Regions from separate parts of the Homo sapiens genome. Here regions 1 and 3 are each linked to region 2. Evidence: promoter capture Hi-C in 16 types of primary human blood cells and fetal thymus (Javierre and others, 2016). All regions are on one chromosome and are shown on one strand. The core of a region is centred on a gene start or on the middle of the fragment in contact, and the rest is flanking DNA. Distances in the headings are between cores, read along the strand shown.

Evidence for each region. The method cuts DNA at HindIII sites, captures the fragments that hold promoters and counts their contacts. A CHiCAGO score of 5 or more calls a contact.
Region 1: a contact is called between a fragment that was not itself captured here and the fragment with the promoter of ASF1A in region 2, in 1 of 17 cell types (total CD8 T cells). The highest score is 5.2, in total CD8 T cells.
Region 3: a fragment that was not itself captured here is called in contact with the fragment with the promoter of ASF1A in region 2 in 4 of 17 cell types (naive B cells, naive CD8 T cells, total B cells and 1 more); the score reaches 6.9 in naive B cells.

The regions. Positions count from the first base shown.
Region 1 is chr6:122,454,178-122,458,886 of GRCh38, reverse strand. SERINC1 (serine incorporator 1) reads left to right here. Exons shown (of 10, transcript NM_020755.4): 2 at 206-367; 3 at 2,237-2,406; 4 at 4,657-4,709. Among named protein-coding and RNA genes, the nearest start is that of SERINC1, 15 kb to the left of the region's middle. The HindIII fragment of the contact is 1,981 bases long and covers 2,440-4,420 here.
Region 2 is chr6:118,891,104-118,895,839 of GRCh38, reverse strand. ASF1A (anti-silencing function 1A histone chaperone) reads right to left here and starts at 1,688. Exons shown (of 4, transcript NM_014034.3): 1 at 1,318-1,688. The coding sequence starts at 1,426. The region is part of intron 8 of MCM9 (minichromosome maintenance 9 homologous recombination repair factor); the gene reads left to right. RefSeq lists silencers at 494-1,023, 1,814-1,953 and an enhancer at 1,404-1,493. The HindIII fragment of the contact is 9,487 bases long and covers 1-2,693 here.
Region 3 is chr6:122,472,911-122,477,488 of GRCh38, reverse strand. It overlaps a transcript of PKIB not described here. Among named protein-coding and RNA genes, the nearest start is that of SERINC1, 3.4 kb to the right of the region's middle. The HindIII fragment of the contact is 594 bases long and covers 2,611-3,204 here.

The sequences.
Region 1 (4,709 bases), core at 2,181-4,680, 3.6 Mb before region 2:
TTTGTCTTTACTCCTTCTTAGAAGTTGCTAAGTTTTGTGGTATATAGATAATTTATATGAACCAAATACCGTATGTCCCTTGATGTAATTACTTTTAGTCTTTTTTCTTTTTTAACAGATAGAATGTCAATTTTCATTGTATCATTTTAAGATATAGTGATTTACTGATTCTTAATAATATTTTCAATAATATTCTTTTTCCCAGATACCATGTTTGTGTGGAAGTGCCCCGTGTTTGCTATGCCGATGCTGTCCTAGTGGAAACAACTCCACTGTAACTAGATTGATCTATGCACTTTTCTTGCTTGTTGGAGTATGTGTAGCTTGTGTAATGTTGATACCAGGAATGGAAGAACAACTGAATAAGGTTAGTCTCGTTTCTTATTTATTGATTAACTGAGGCTATAGGGTATATATGTATATGTATAAAATTGATTCGGGGATATTGTAAACAGAATAATATAGAATAAGACAGTATGTAATCCTAGTTGTAGTTCATAATCTTTTAGGAAAAAGATAATATACATTAGTTTGTTAAGTTCTATGATGGTGGTACAGGAAATGTACTGTGGTAATACACAGAAAGAAGTATAATTCTAACCAGGTGTCAGAATCTCAATGGGTCATGGAAAAAAGGATGTTCTAAGAATGATTAGAACTTGCATATACAGAGATTGAAAAATAGAAAGCATAATGAGTATAAAAGAGCTTTTCAAGCAAAGTATCTATACTTTAGGAAGATTAATCTTACAATTAATAAAGTATAAAAGTCAAGCAGTTAAATATGGAGGCTGTTGCAGTGGTATAATCAAGAAGAGAATAGCGGACCTGAAATAAGATTTTCTGGATGTAAAATTGACTGAGCCTAGCACTGAAATATTGGCAGTGATATGGAATCATAAATAACAACCAGGTTCTGGTCCTACAAAACCGGGAGGAAAGTATTGCTATTAACCTAGAAAGGAAAATTTTTAGAGAGAGTCAGGTTGTGGAAGGAGATTGGGAACACATAATAAATTTAGTTTCTAACATGTTGACTTGGTGGTATTGTATCGTGTACATGTATATATATATATATATATGTATGTCTTACTCAGTTCAGGCTGCTATAACAAGAATATCATAGGCTGGGTGGCTTAAGACAACAAAAATTTATTTCTCAGTTTTGGAGGCTGAAAGTCCGAGATCAGGGTGCCACCATGGTCAAGTTCTGATGAGGATCTTATTCCTGGTTTACACATGGCCATCTTACATTTTTGAAAGAAAGCAGCAGCTCTCTTCTGTCTGTTTTTATAAGGGCATTAATCCCATCCTGAGGGCTCTACCCTCATGATTTAATTACCACATAAAGGCCCTATCTCCCACTATCCTCCCATTGAGGGTTAGAGTTTCAGCATTTAATTTTGGGTAGACACAAACACGAAGTCCATAATAATATACAGCAGTAAGTAGAAAACATGAAGGAATTTAAAAGAGAAATCAGAGCTAGAGACTGCCTTGAGGATAGAAATTGAATGTTGAAACCATGGCAGCGTATGCTGAAGATCATTCAGAGTGAGCAGAGCTAGAACTCTGCCAAAATCTCTTACTTAAGGGAGTTAGTGGAGAAAGGAAAACCTGATTCTGATCCTAGAAAACTGGGAGGGAAGGGATAACAGAAAAGAACAAAGAAAATGTATAGGTTCTAGGAAGAAAGTTTTAAGAATGACAGGGATAGTGTCTATATAAAAATGAGATTAAGGAATGTGATTAAGCAGTAGCCTTTGGGTTTGGAAACCAGTACATGACTAGTATCCTGGAAAAGCAGTTTTTTTAGAGTGCTGGGACTGGAAAGAGTGGGAGGAAATAATTTATTCTTATATATATGAATAATAGATGTATTAATAGTTCTGAACAGTAGTCTCAGAAATAGCACTTACACTACTAAAACAAGTCTATCGTGCTATTCAAGTAGAATGCAAGTTTTTAAAATGTAGGATAAATCTATAACTCAAAATAAGCAACCAGCATAGAGTTGGTATTGTAGTTTATGATTTGCGCAGATGGGGATTTAACTCTTTTTTCCCCACTGTATGTGATTAAAATGTATCAGACTCATCTTGAGTACATATTCATCATAAATTGTAAAGCAAATGCCAGTTTTCTAAACCTTTACTTAAACTATTTGATTACATGTAATTTTTATTTTTACTTAATGAAAAAAAATGATGGATCATAAACTCTTTTGTTTTTCTAGATTCCTGGATTTTGTGAGAATGAGAAAGGTGTTGTCCCTTGTAACATTTTGGTTGGCTATAAAGCTGTATATCGTTTGTGCTTTGGTTTGGCTATGTTCTATCTTCTTCTCTCTTTACTAATGATCAAAGTGAAGAGTAGCAGTGATCCTAGAGCTGCAGTGCACAATGGGTAAGTTTTTAAATAAGCTTCAATATAAAAGCTTGGGTAGCCTCTTCTTGATAATTGCCAGTTTATCCAAGGAAACTTTAAGGTAAAATAAACTTATACAATTTGCAGAATTACTTTATTCATGAATGACAGGATAAGAAAATCTTGTTTTTACTGGAGAATGTCAGACTTTGGATATTAAATAATAGCTGTGATAACCTCTGATCCACAGTGTTTTATATTTTCATACTAAAAAAGAGGCTCTATTATATTTGTGACTACTAAGGGAATAGCTATTTCTCCTTCTACTGTTAACTTTAGGTGGACCAGTCCACTTACATAGAACTCTCAGTTCCCTAGACCCAGAGAGCAGATTTTTCTAGGTTGGTTGTATTGGACAACCCAGAAAGAAACTTCAGGGTTTCTTTTATCAATCTTCCTTCATATAGAGCACTACTTCTGGTACCCTTATTTGACTGTTTTAATATCTGCTGTTGCTTATCTAGTTATATGTGCTACCAAAGACAAAAAGTATAAACAAGTAGAATATAAATATTAATGAGAAAATATGTGACGGGTTGCTTTTCCTTTATTTTGTTCCTTTGGTCATTGATTATTTTATTAAATTATTAGAGTTTTAGATGGAGGCATTTATCATGTGTTTATAAAAACTATTCATTTATACAGTTCACCTTATACTTTGATACATTATCCCACTTATGTGAAATAAGCCTGTGAAATGGAACTAACATTCTCATTTTTCCATAATGAATTAGTGAGAAATACATCTTTCTCAAAATGGTCTTAAAAGCAGTTTATGTAATTGTTGTTTTTTCTGATAATCAAGTGTATTAGGGTTCTCTAGAGGGACAGAACTAATAGGATAGATAGATATATATAAAGGGGAGTTTATTAAGTATTATCTCACATGATCTCAAGGTCCCACAATAGGCCATCTGCAAGCTGAGGAGCAAGGAGAGCCAGTCCTAGTCCCAAAACTGAAGAACTTGGAGCCTGATGTTCAAGGGCAGGGAGCATCCAGCACAGGAGAAAGATGTAGGCTGGGATGCTAGGCCAGTCTAGTCTTTTCACTTTTTTTTTTTGCCTGCTTTATATTCTAGCCCTGCTGGCAGCTGATTAGATGGTGCCCACCCAGATTAAGGGTGTGTCTGCCTTTCCCAGCCCACTGACTGAAATGTTAATCTTCTTTGGCAACACCCTCACAGACACACCCAGCATCAGTACTTTGCACCCTTCAATCCAATCAAGTTGACACTCAGTATTAACCATTACAAGTCAGTACTTTGCATCCTTGAATTCAATTGACACTCAGTATAACTATCAGAAGTCTACCCATTGTCAACTTGAACCCGTATACATCTCCTGAGATCATACATAATCTGCAAATAAAGACAATAATAAGGTCATACAACTAACCTTACAACTGAAAACGCACCAGTCCCCAACCAAAATACTAATTACATAAAGTTAACAATACTTAAATGCTGATGTGAAGTCAGTAAATCTTATGTCACATGATAAAGGAGAATGGAAATAAAATGAAGATATTTTCTTAGTACAAGTATATGCATGCATGAACATGTTTTTGACAAAACAAGGAGGAAGTACTCACAACAATTACAGCCCTCGTTTCTGCAGCTGGACATGTGGTCATAGCTGGTATTGATGACTGCCTTCTGCTACCCATTGTGTATTCCCTTTGCCTTCAGCAAGCAACTCAGCAGGTCGTGGTTTTTTTCCTGGTGGAGTGACCCAATGATCTCCATAAGCGCCTACTTTAACTGGGGGACCACAATGTTGTTTTGGGTCCCCTGGAATCAATGTCAGCTCAGAGCCAGTGTCCAGTAGTCCCCAAAATGTCTTATCATTTCCCTTTCTTTTCCAGCCATTTGCTCTGATGCTTCCTCTAGCGTGGTCTGGGCTTTAATCCATTCCTTTCACATGTTGACTTGCCTTTCTTATCAGATTTTTTTTGCTTTGTTTTTTCCAATTGGAAAGATCTATAATATAAGCTTGGGTTCATGGTAATGGTTAATTTCACTCTCTCTCCAAACTATGTTATCTAAATATGATGATTACCTTGTTTTGTAGTTACAAATATGGCTACACTCCAGATCATAATATCCTCAGAAAGAAGTAGAACATTCACATAAAGTGTAGCTATTTGTTAAGATGCAGTTAAATGATTTCATATATGAAATTATTTGATGAATGTCTATTAATAAAAAATTATATTTCTTTTTGTTTTAGATTTTGGTTCTTTAAATTTGCTGCAGCAATTGCAATTATTATTGGGGCATTCT
Region 2 (4,736 bases), core at 439-2,938:
AAGTTTTACATGCCACGATTACCTAAATCATCTTCAATGCATTTTTTACATATACTTCTAGTTCAAAGTATGTCCCTCATCGATGAAGTTAAACTATTTCCCCTTCAAAACTGGCAAATGAAGCACTGAATTACTTTAGTAAAAGATAATTAAAGCAAAGATAATTGTCGTTTTAGCTTTCTAAATATTTATTACTAAAGATATTAAAAATACGTATTTTTAAGACCTTAAAATATATGTAGAAAAAATACCAAGAATTCTTGGACTGACATGAGGAGTTGACCTTAATTTCCTAGCCTACGTTTGTGTTTTATGTTTAGGGTGTGTTCTGTATTTGGATGTGGAGTTATTTTAGATTTCAACACGGTCTTGAAGAAAGTCTTCCTTCAGACTATTTATAAGGCAGAGATTAAGTCCTGGAAATTATTTAAGTATCTTATTTCTGCTTTTAGGTTAAATGTAACTTCCTACCTCAGCTCTATTTCTCTTCCTGAAATTAGCTTTTCGTCATTAGGGGAAAGGAGTCCACGTTGGTTGGGGAGCCTGCGCGCCAGCATCCCGGCGCATCCCGGGCGCCGGCCGAGGAGGACCGGCCGAACAGGACCCACGGCCCCCGGGGAGCGCCGGCGCCCAGCCCGCGGCGCGGAGGGGCCGAGCCTGCGCCCGCCTCCCCCGCTGGTTGGTCGAGGAAGCCAGAAATCAGCGCGAGGACAGCCTCGCTCTCCTCCCCGAAGCGGCCAGGCATGGCCAGCCCGGAGAGTGCGGCGACTCCACCGTGAGCTCTCGAGAGTGCCTGCCTGCCTTTCGCCGGGGGCAGGCGGGCGGCGGGGCAAGAGGAGGCGCCGTGCGCCGGGGTCGCTGGCCCAATTCTCGACTCGGGGTAAGATGGCTCCGCTCCGAACTCGCCGGCGCGACCACACGCACAGCCTCTCCCTTCCCAGCCTCCGTGCTCGGGCCCGGAGGGTCGCGGAGGCTGTTGGCGGCGCGGAGCCAGCCCGGCGCGACCTCAGGCGGCGCAGCGGGAGCGAGTGCGGGTCTCCGAGCTGCCCGCCCGCAGACAAAGCTGACAACATGGCTACCTCCGCTCCTCCGCTCAAACAAGTTCCTCGCAAGTTGAGCCCGGCAGGCGCCTGGGCTGCGGCGGAAAGCCGCGCGCGCCTCGGCGGCCGTCGTCCATCAACTTCAAGTTTCCCTCCGCAGAGCAGCCCGCGGCCGCCAGGCGCCGAACACAGCCGCCCAGCGCGAGGCCCGGCCCGGGAAACTTTCAACGTCTGCAGCCCGCAACTGACAGCCCGGGCGCACGGGCGCCGCACTCACCTTCAGACAGGTCCTCGATGCACTCGAAGGTGATCTCGAACTGGAACGGGTTGTAGAAAGGAGAAGGGTTATCCAGCACCACTACATTGTTCACCTGAACCTTTGCCATATTTTGAAAAAAACACAAACAATGGGAACTGGGGCTGGTTGCGGCACAATAAAGTCCAGCGCGCGGCCGCTCGGGAGAGCGCAGACCCCCGCTCCAGCGCCGGCCAGACGTCGTGCAGCGGCGACTTGAGAAACTTTTTTCCTCTTTTTATTTACACGGGAGCACTCCACAGTGTTTTGCAGCTTTCCTATTTCACTAAACTACAGCCCATTCTGCTCTGATAAGTAGCAGCGTTGCCCTCGATTGGCTGCACCCGAGTTCTGACCCTCCTCCTCCAGCGAGGGCCTCGGCAGCCAGCAAGATGGGCTCCCGCTCCCGGAATGGACTCGGAAACTTTAACTGCGGCTCCACCTGCTGGTGTGGATTAGGACAAAGGCGGAGAACAAAGTGAGTGGAATAAGGGCTGGGAGGCCCGCGCGGAGGCCGCCGGCGGCGGCGCGGAGAGGGGCGGAGGGGGCGTGGCCGCGGCGGGGAGGCGTGGCTGCGGCGGGAGGGCGCGATCCGGCCGACGCCCGCCCCTCCAGTTGGCTTCGTGTGGGTGTTTTGGCGTTTTTTTGTTTTTTTTTTTGTTTTTTTGGTTTTTTGATTTAACGCTCTTTTTACATCAGTGCAACAGCTTTGCCGGCCTTGCTGAATTTAGCAGATGAGAGTCGGTGTTTACACTGGGTTAGGTTCAGCTTTCTGCGTATCGGGTAGTATTTGGAGTAGAGAGAAAGATTGGCTGCAGGGGAAATAAATTGCATGTTATAGACCGATGTCAGCTCGAAAGGAGCAAAGCCATTTTGGAAATCTAGCTCTTGGCCAGTATCTACGTTTAGGCACGACAGCGCCGTTAAGCAACACAAAATGAAGGGCGAGGAATGATTTTCTACACACTGTGCTTGGAAAATTTAAATAGGTAACCTTTGGGCTTGCACCTGGGCGTCTTCTTCGGAGTCCAGATCTGGGAAGTCCTAGAATAAAAAAAAATCACAAGAGGTGTGATCAGTTATACTTCAGGTTACTGCCATTTGGAGAGCATAGCAGGAACATAAAAGGAGAAAATGGAAGTGTTAGGAGACCAACAGGGCAACAAACGTAATAGAGATGGGAAAAAGAACACAAAGACATAGCAAGACATTTGATCTTCAAAAAAATTTCTGACCTAAACCGTTAGTAAAGCAAATTCTGAGGAGCCCTTGCTTGCCTGTAACCAGTTGAGGTCTGAACTGAGGAAATGTTGATTCGTTTATGCTGCTTGGCTACCATTGCGGGGAAAGAGAAAGCTTTAACATATTTGTGAGCCTAAACCGTTTCTATTTAGTAAGTGGTATAAAGGTTTGTTTTATTATCTGCTAGCCATAAACCATCATTTTTTTCCTTAAATGTTGTGAATGAAACCACCAAACTTGGCCAAATTCAGAGAGAAAATTAATTCTTAAGTATGTGTTCTGGAAGAGTTTTCTCTTAGTATAGTGCCCAGAATTTTGATTTGTCATTCTTTGGTCATTGTTCATACTTAAGTAGGTGGCTTTTGATGAAACGTTTTCATCTGATGGTCTTTTGAAAGTTAATGTGAGACAGCTAATGTCAACCCCTCGTACATTTAGGAAAACCGGTTAGAGTGGGGAAGAGTTCCCTTTTTTTGTCAGTGGATTGAACAGTTAGATATAGGACCTACCAAAAAACACTTCTTCAAGCCAGTTGTTTGTGACATTAGAGTATTAAGAGTCAAACCATGGTGATAGACACAGATTTTTGTGGCTGATAAACAACATACTCTTCATTCTTATTAGTGCTGGTCCTAACACTAGCAGATAAAGTGGAAATTGCTGTATGCTGTAAGACACTCTGTATATGTAAGATAAAATGACCATTTGAAGATTAAAACTCCTGTGAGACTGGTGTATGCAGTTGTCTGATTATTACAGGTACTCTTAAGAGGAGAGTCTAGTCAGTCTCATGAAAACGACATTTTATGCTTGTTAAAATCACGTGCATTTTGCAGTCTGACCGTAAGTGTTACAATGAGACTAGTTGTAAAACTCACTTTTGGTGGATGTGCAGCATGAAGGACTGAGAAGATCTACCTGAATGCCACTAATTTGGCTTATTTTCTTTAAAATTTTTTGTTTAACACATCATATGCAACAGTATTTAAGAAGAAAAAACTCCCCAACATTTCACTGGAAGCTGCAAGAATTAGCTCCAGGCTTCTCCTGTCTTAACTCTTGTATTATTGCTTGTCAGAAATACTAAAGGGTCGTTGAGCACTTTGTTCAATAGTTTCCTCACCATTGATACTACCTTACTCCAGGAGAGACCGAAAGGATTCCTCAGATATGTCCTGGCATATTTCTAATTTAACTGGTATGCTGTAGGAAAAAAAGAATTGTGAAAGCCTCTCTCTGGTTTCAGAGGCAATCAGTAGGACTTGTTGCTGAACAACTTTGGTGACTCCCAAACATCTAATTGTACAACAGATGGGTCACTGTGAATGTCTTTATTAAGTACCCAAGGGGGTCCCACATAATGTTTGGAGGGCTGCATGGAATGTAATCCCCCAATCACTTCTCACTATGGGTTACTTGGGGGAAGGATGGCTGAGAGAGATTTTATCGGCTCTAAGATGAACAGAACAAAGCCTAAACTAGTGCTTAGGGCAGAAATACATGAAACTAGTTAGTTGTTGTTTTAGACTGAATTATGTCTCCCCCAAATTCGTATGTTGAAGCACTAATCCCTAGTACCTCAGAATGTGACTGTATTTGGAGATTAAGTTAAATGAGGTGATTGGGGTGGGCCCTAATCTAATCTAGCTGGCGTCCTCACAAGGGGAAATTTAGATTTACAGAGAAGCACAAGGGTCACACGCACACAGAGGAAACACAGCAAAAAGGTGGCCATTTGCAAGCCAAGCAAAGAGGCTTTAGAATAAACCAAACCTGCCAACACCTTGATCTTGGATTTCTAGCTTCCAGAACTGTGAGAAAGTAAATTTCTATTGTTTAAGCCACCCAGTGAGTGATATTTTGTTATGGCAGCTCTAACAACCTAATATAGCTATAAGATATTTTTCCCCTCAGAATTAAGCTTATTTGAGCATCTAATCTTACTGAATCCAAATATTGGTCAGTTCCCAAGCACTTCCTGTGGGTGAAATGATGTGGTCCTTTAGCCATGCCAGTAAGGGTGTGGCGTATGTGGAGTGGTGTGCTGTTGCCATTCTTCAGAGGAAGTATATACCACTGGGCATATAGCTTGAATTCTGAAGACACAAGATGCAGCTTACTTGCATGGATTCAAGACTCCTCTACAGAGAAGTGAAACT
Region 3 (4,578 bases), core at 1,658-4,157, 3.6 Mb before region 2:
TATAGTACTTTGATAGCCTAAATGATTATCAGAATATAACATTTATCCTTCTTACAAATCTCTCATATCTGATTTTTATATAAGAAATCAATTTAGGTTCAATACCTAAAGCAAATGCACAGGCTTAAAACCACTTTATCTGAAATATCTAAATAACTTATACAAAGAAAAATATGATTGCTTCCTTGTTTAGCTTGTATCACCTGGATAATTGCCTCGACTTTCTCCTTCAGCTTACAGACCTGCATTGTCCAATATAGGGACTACTGGACATTTGAAATATGCTGGTCCAAATGGAGATGTGCTCTTAATTATATAACACAACCAGATTCTGAAGACTTATATGAAAAATAATGTAAAACATTCTATTAAGAATTTTTATATTAATGTCATTGAAATATTTTGGATATAGAGTTCAATTAAATGCATCTTTAAAATTAATTTCATCCGTTTCTTTTAATACATCTACAAAAAATTTTAAATTACAAATGTGATTCACATTTCATTTCTATTGGAAGGTGCTGATTTAGACGTTGCCTTAATAACATGTTTAATAAGAATTCAAAAATCTGATGAGTGCCAAATCGAACTAGTTGATTCCTTTCTGTAGCACAAATAAATAACGTTTTGGGTGAATGAATGTGAAGAATTTCTTCAGTATATAATTTCATTATTTTATCAAGGTCAATACATCTGCCCTTGAAAAGTGAAATGTTTTAGAAATGTCATTTACACTTTTTCAAGAAGTCACTCCCTTCTCAATGATTATAAAATAGTACATTAAATATTAGACACATATTTGAATTTGCTATCCACTTTATTATTTACACAGTGAATATTTCCTTTTTTCCTGAATTTATGTATGTTCTGCCTGAAATAAACTTATTTTTGTAGACATCTATTTCACTGGTATAAACATATCTGCTTGTTATGGAATTATAGGCTTAGATTTCAGCAAAATAAGAAAATCTGTGTGGAAAGAATATTGTTCATTTGCTGTTTTAACATTAAGACCATAATTGAAGAGAGTTTTTGTACATTTGACACTGTATCTTAGTTTTGAATTATTTTCCAAAACTATCAATGTGTGTCTTAACAGATAAAAGCATGTCTTTAATCAGAATATGGTCTCTTCCAATTCTAAGTTTATACTGACCCCTATGGGTTACTGTGTCCTAATCTATTTTTGGCTTATCCTTTCAGAATATCTGTGAAATACTTAAACATGTTTACATTTAAGATATAACTAATTTAGGATAAAAGCCATAAAATACTTTTTATATTTTTGCTCTCCTTGGATTATATAACAAACTATGCACAAATTTTATTCATCCTTTAACTACTGTGGGGGGGCCAAGATGTTTCAGTCCTCATTATATTTAGTGTTGATGTACTAAGGACAAGAGAACTAAGCAGTATAATTTCTAATTTCCAGAAAAATATGACCTGATTATTTTCCTTAAAATCTGTTCCACTCTCACAATATTTCAGAGATATAGATCATTTATTAGGATAAAAAATAAAGTTTATACAGAGATTTGTGTAAAGGCAGGAAGGATTATGGGACCAAAGATGAGTCTAATTTTAGTCAACCTTGATGGAGACACACTGATTCTAGGTTACACTGGGAATTTTTAATGTGATATACATGATTCTAAACCATATCCTTATGGATTGATTATTTATTTTTACTTGTTTTTTTTGAGACAGAGTCTCACTCTGTCACCCAGGCTGGAGTGCAGTGGCGTGATCTCAGCTCACTGCAACCTCTGCCTCCCAGGTTCGAGCAATTCTCCTGCCTCGGCCTCTTGAGTAGCTGGGACTACAGACGCATGCCACCACACCGAGCTAATTTTTGTATTTTTAGTAGAGACAGGGTTTCACCATGTTGGCCAGGCTGCTCTCAAACTCCTGACCTCAGGTGATCCACCCACCTTAGGCTCCCAAAGTGCTGGGATTACAGGCGTGAGCCACCACACCCGGCCTATTTTTACTTTTATAGAGATGAAGTCTCACTATGTTGCCTAGGTTGGTCTCTAACTCCTGTGATCAAGCTATCCTCCTGCCTCAGTCTCTGGAGTGTTGGAAATAAGATGTGAGTCACTGCACCCAGCATAACCTTATGGATTTCAACAGGAATTACAAGAGGTGGCGAAGGGTTATTGACATTTATTTTCCTTTATGCTGAAGATGTGGTTTCTGAAAATAAAATTATTATTTTTAGTATTCTCTCAAAAATTCAATGGGCCAGGCGTTTTGGTACACGCCTGTAATCCCAGCTCCTCAGGAGGCTGAGGTTGCAGTGAGCTGAGATCAGGCCACTGCACTCCAGGCAGCGGTTGCAGGAGAATCGCTGGAATTTGGGAGGTGGAGGTTGCAGTGAGCCGAGATCAGGCCACTGAACTCCAGCCTGGGCAATAGAGCAAGCCTACGTCTCAAAACAATAACAAGAACAACAACAAACCAAAATGACTGATAACTGACAAATCTATATTTGAGAGTGACTTACATAAACCTAAATTTTGTACCTAAATCATTCTGAAATTACATTGGTTAATATTGATTTTTGTGAATCCATTATTGAAATTTTTACTATGGCTAGGATAAGCTTCGTAATCCTGCTTTACATTTTTCTCAGGGTACAATAGTCACAACTATAGTTTATCTGGGAGAATTCATTTACCTATATGTAAGAATGAACCTGGACTATCTTCTAAGGAAAACCTTAAGCCTGTCTATAGTACTCCACAGATCTCCCAGCCCATTTCTGTGCATGTCTATTCTGACAAGTATTTTGGTCTTTCTCCTGAATTTCCCTAAGAGACTATTAATTTTACATACCATTTATTTGAATGTTAAAGTCTATGTCTTGTCCTTAATTGACAACACAGAGCATTCATGCTCTGATTCTTGACAACAAACATAACCTTCAGCTCTCTGATGCCACATATGGATCAAAAGTTTAATTATGAGAAAAGATATTCTAGGAGGGCTGCCAGAAGGCTATGAAGTCCATCCTTCCCTCCATCAGTATTTCTTAAACTATATTTCATGGAACACTTACAGTGCATATTAATACATTTCATAAGAAAAAAAGATTTTTTAAGGTCAAGTTTAGAAAACATTAGGAGTGAAGGAATTGAACATGCTAATATGCAACATCAGTCACAAGAGAAGAATGTAACAGGCAGTACCATCCAAGCTTATCTGAAAACTTCTTCCAGCATGGCTACTTAGTAACATTCTCAAAAAAATCAATATTCCAATTTTTTTGTTTTTTGGCATACTAGCCCTTAATCAAGTCAGAGAACTGAGTTATTAGATAGCATGGCTTTTTTGTTTGTTTGTTTGTTTTGAGACAGAGTTTTGCTCTTATCACCTAGGCCGGAGTGCAGTGGCACGATCCCAGCTCACTGCAACCTCTGCCTCCTGGGTTCAAGCAATTCTCCAGCCTCAGCCTCCTGAGTAGCTGGGATTACAGAGGTGTGCCACCATGCCCTGCTAATTTTTGTATTTTTAGTAGAGACAGGTTTTCGCCATGTTGGCCAGGCTGGTCTGGAACTCCTGACCTCAGGTGATCTGCCCGCCTCAGCCACCTAAAGTGCTAAGATAATGGGTGTGAGCCACCATGCTCAGCTAGATAGAATGTTTTTTACTAACGTACTTACTTAGACTAATTTGAATTTTGGCATTGTAAGTTATACGTGTGCTACAGGAAGTCACCTGGAGAAATGGGTGCTCCTACTAATAGCTGGTATATATTGAGAAAACTATGCTTTGAGCTGTGTTTGGGTTGAAATTTGAAAAAGTCATCATTTCAATTTTCTTTCATAGTTGGCAAAGAGAAAAATGAGACTGGTGTCGAAGACTCTTCTAACGAATAAAATAGTCTATATATACTGTCGTGTCCAATTAATGTTGTATATATAATAACTTAAGTGAGCAAATTCCACTCCACATAGCCTACAGGTTAAATAAAAGTAAATTTTTTTTAATGTATTTCAAGGCCAAGTGTTACATTCCAGAAAGATTAATATGACTTTTGTATTTAACTCTGAATATCTCAGGTGAAAAAACTCTATTGAATAGTGCAAGAACTTATGAATATCTCAGAAACCCTCTTAAATGGAGCAAGAGACAAGAATCTGTGCAAATTTAAATTTTAAGAGACCCATTCTCCATTTGGCTAATAAACATATTCTTTACGACCTTAAAGTTACTCACATATAAGTGTTTTTTGTCTCCTTCTCTGGTACTTTGAAAAGTTTAAGGACTTGAGATACTAGGATTCTCTTCTCCCATAAATAACGTATTAAGTTTAGCATAATTAAAAATATTGTTAGGTTTGTAATTTCCATTTCCACTATTCTTTTTTTTTGAGACGGAGTCTCGCTCTGCAGCCCAGGCTGGAGTGCAGTGGCCCAATCTCGGCTCACTGCAACCTCTGCCTCCCGGGTTCAAGCAGTTCTCCTGCCTCGCCTCCCGAGTAGCTGGGATTACATGCGCGTGCCACCATGCCCGGCTAATTTTTTGTATTTTTAGTAGAGATGGGGTTTCACCATGCTGGCCAGGCTGGTC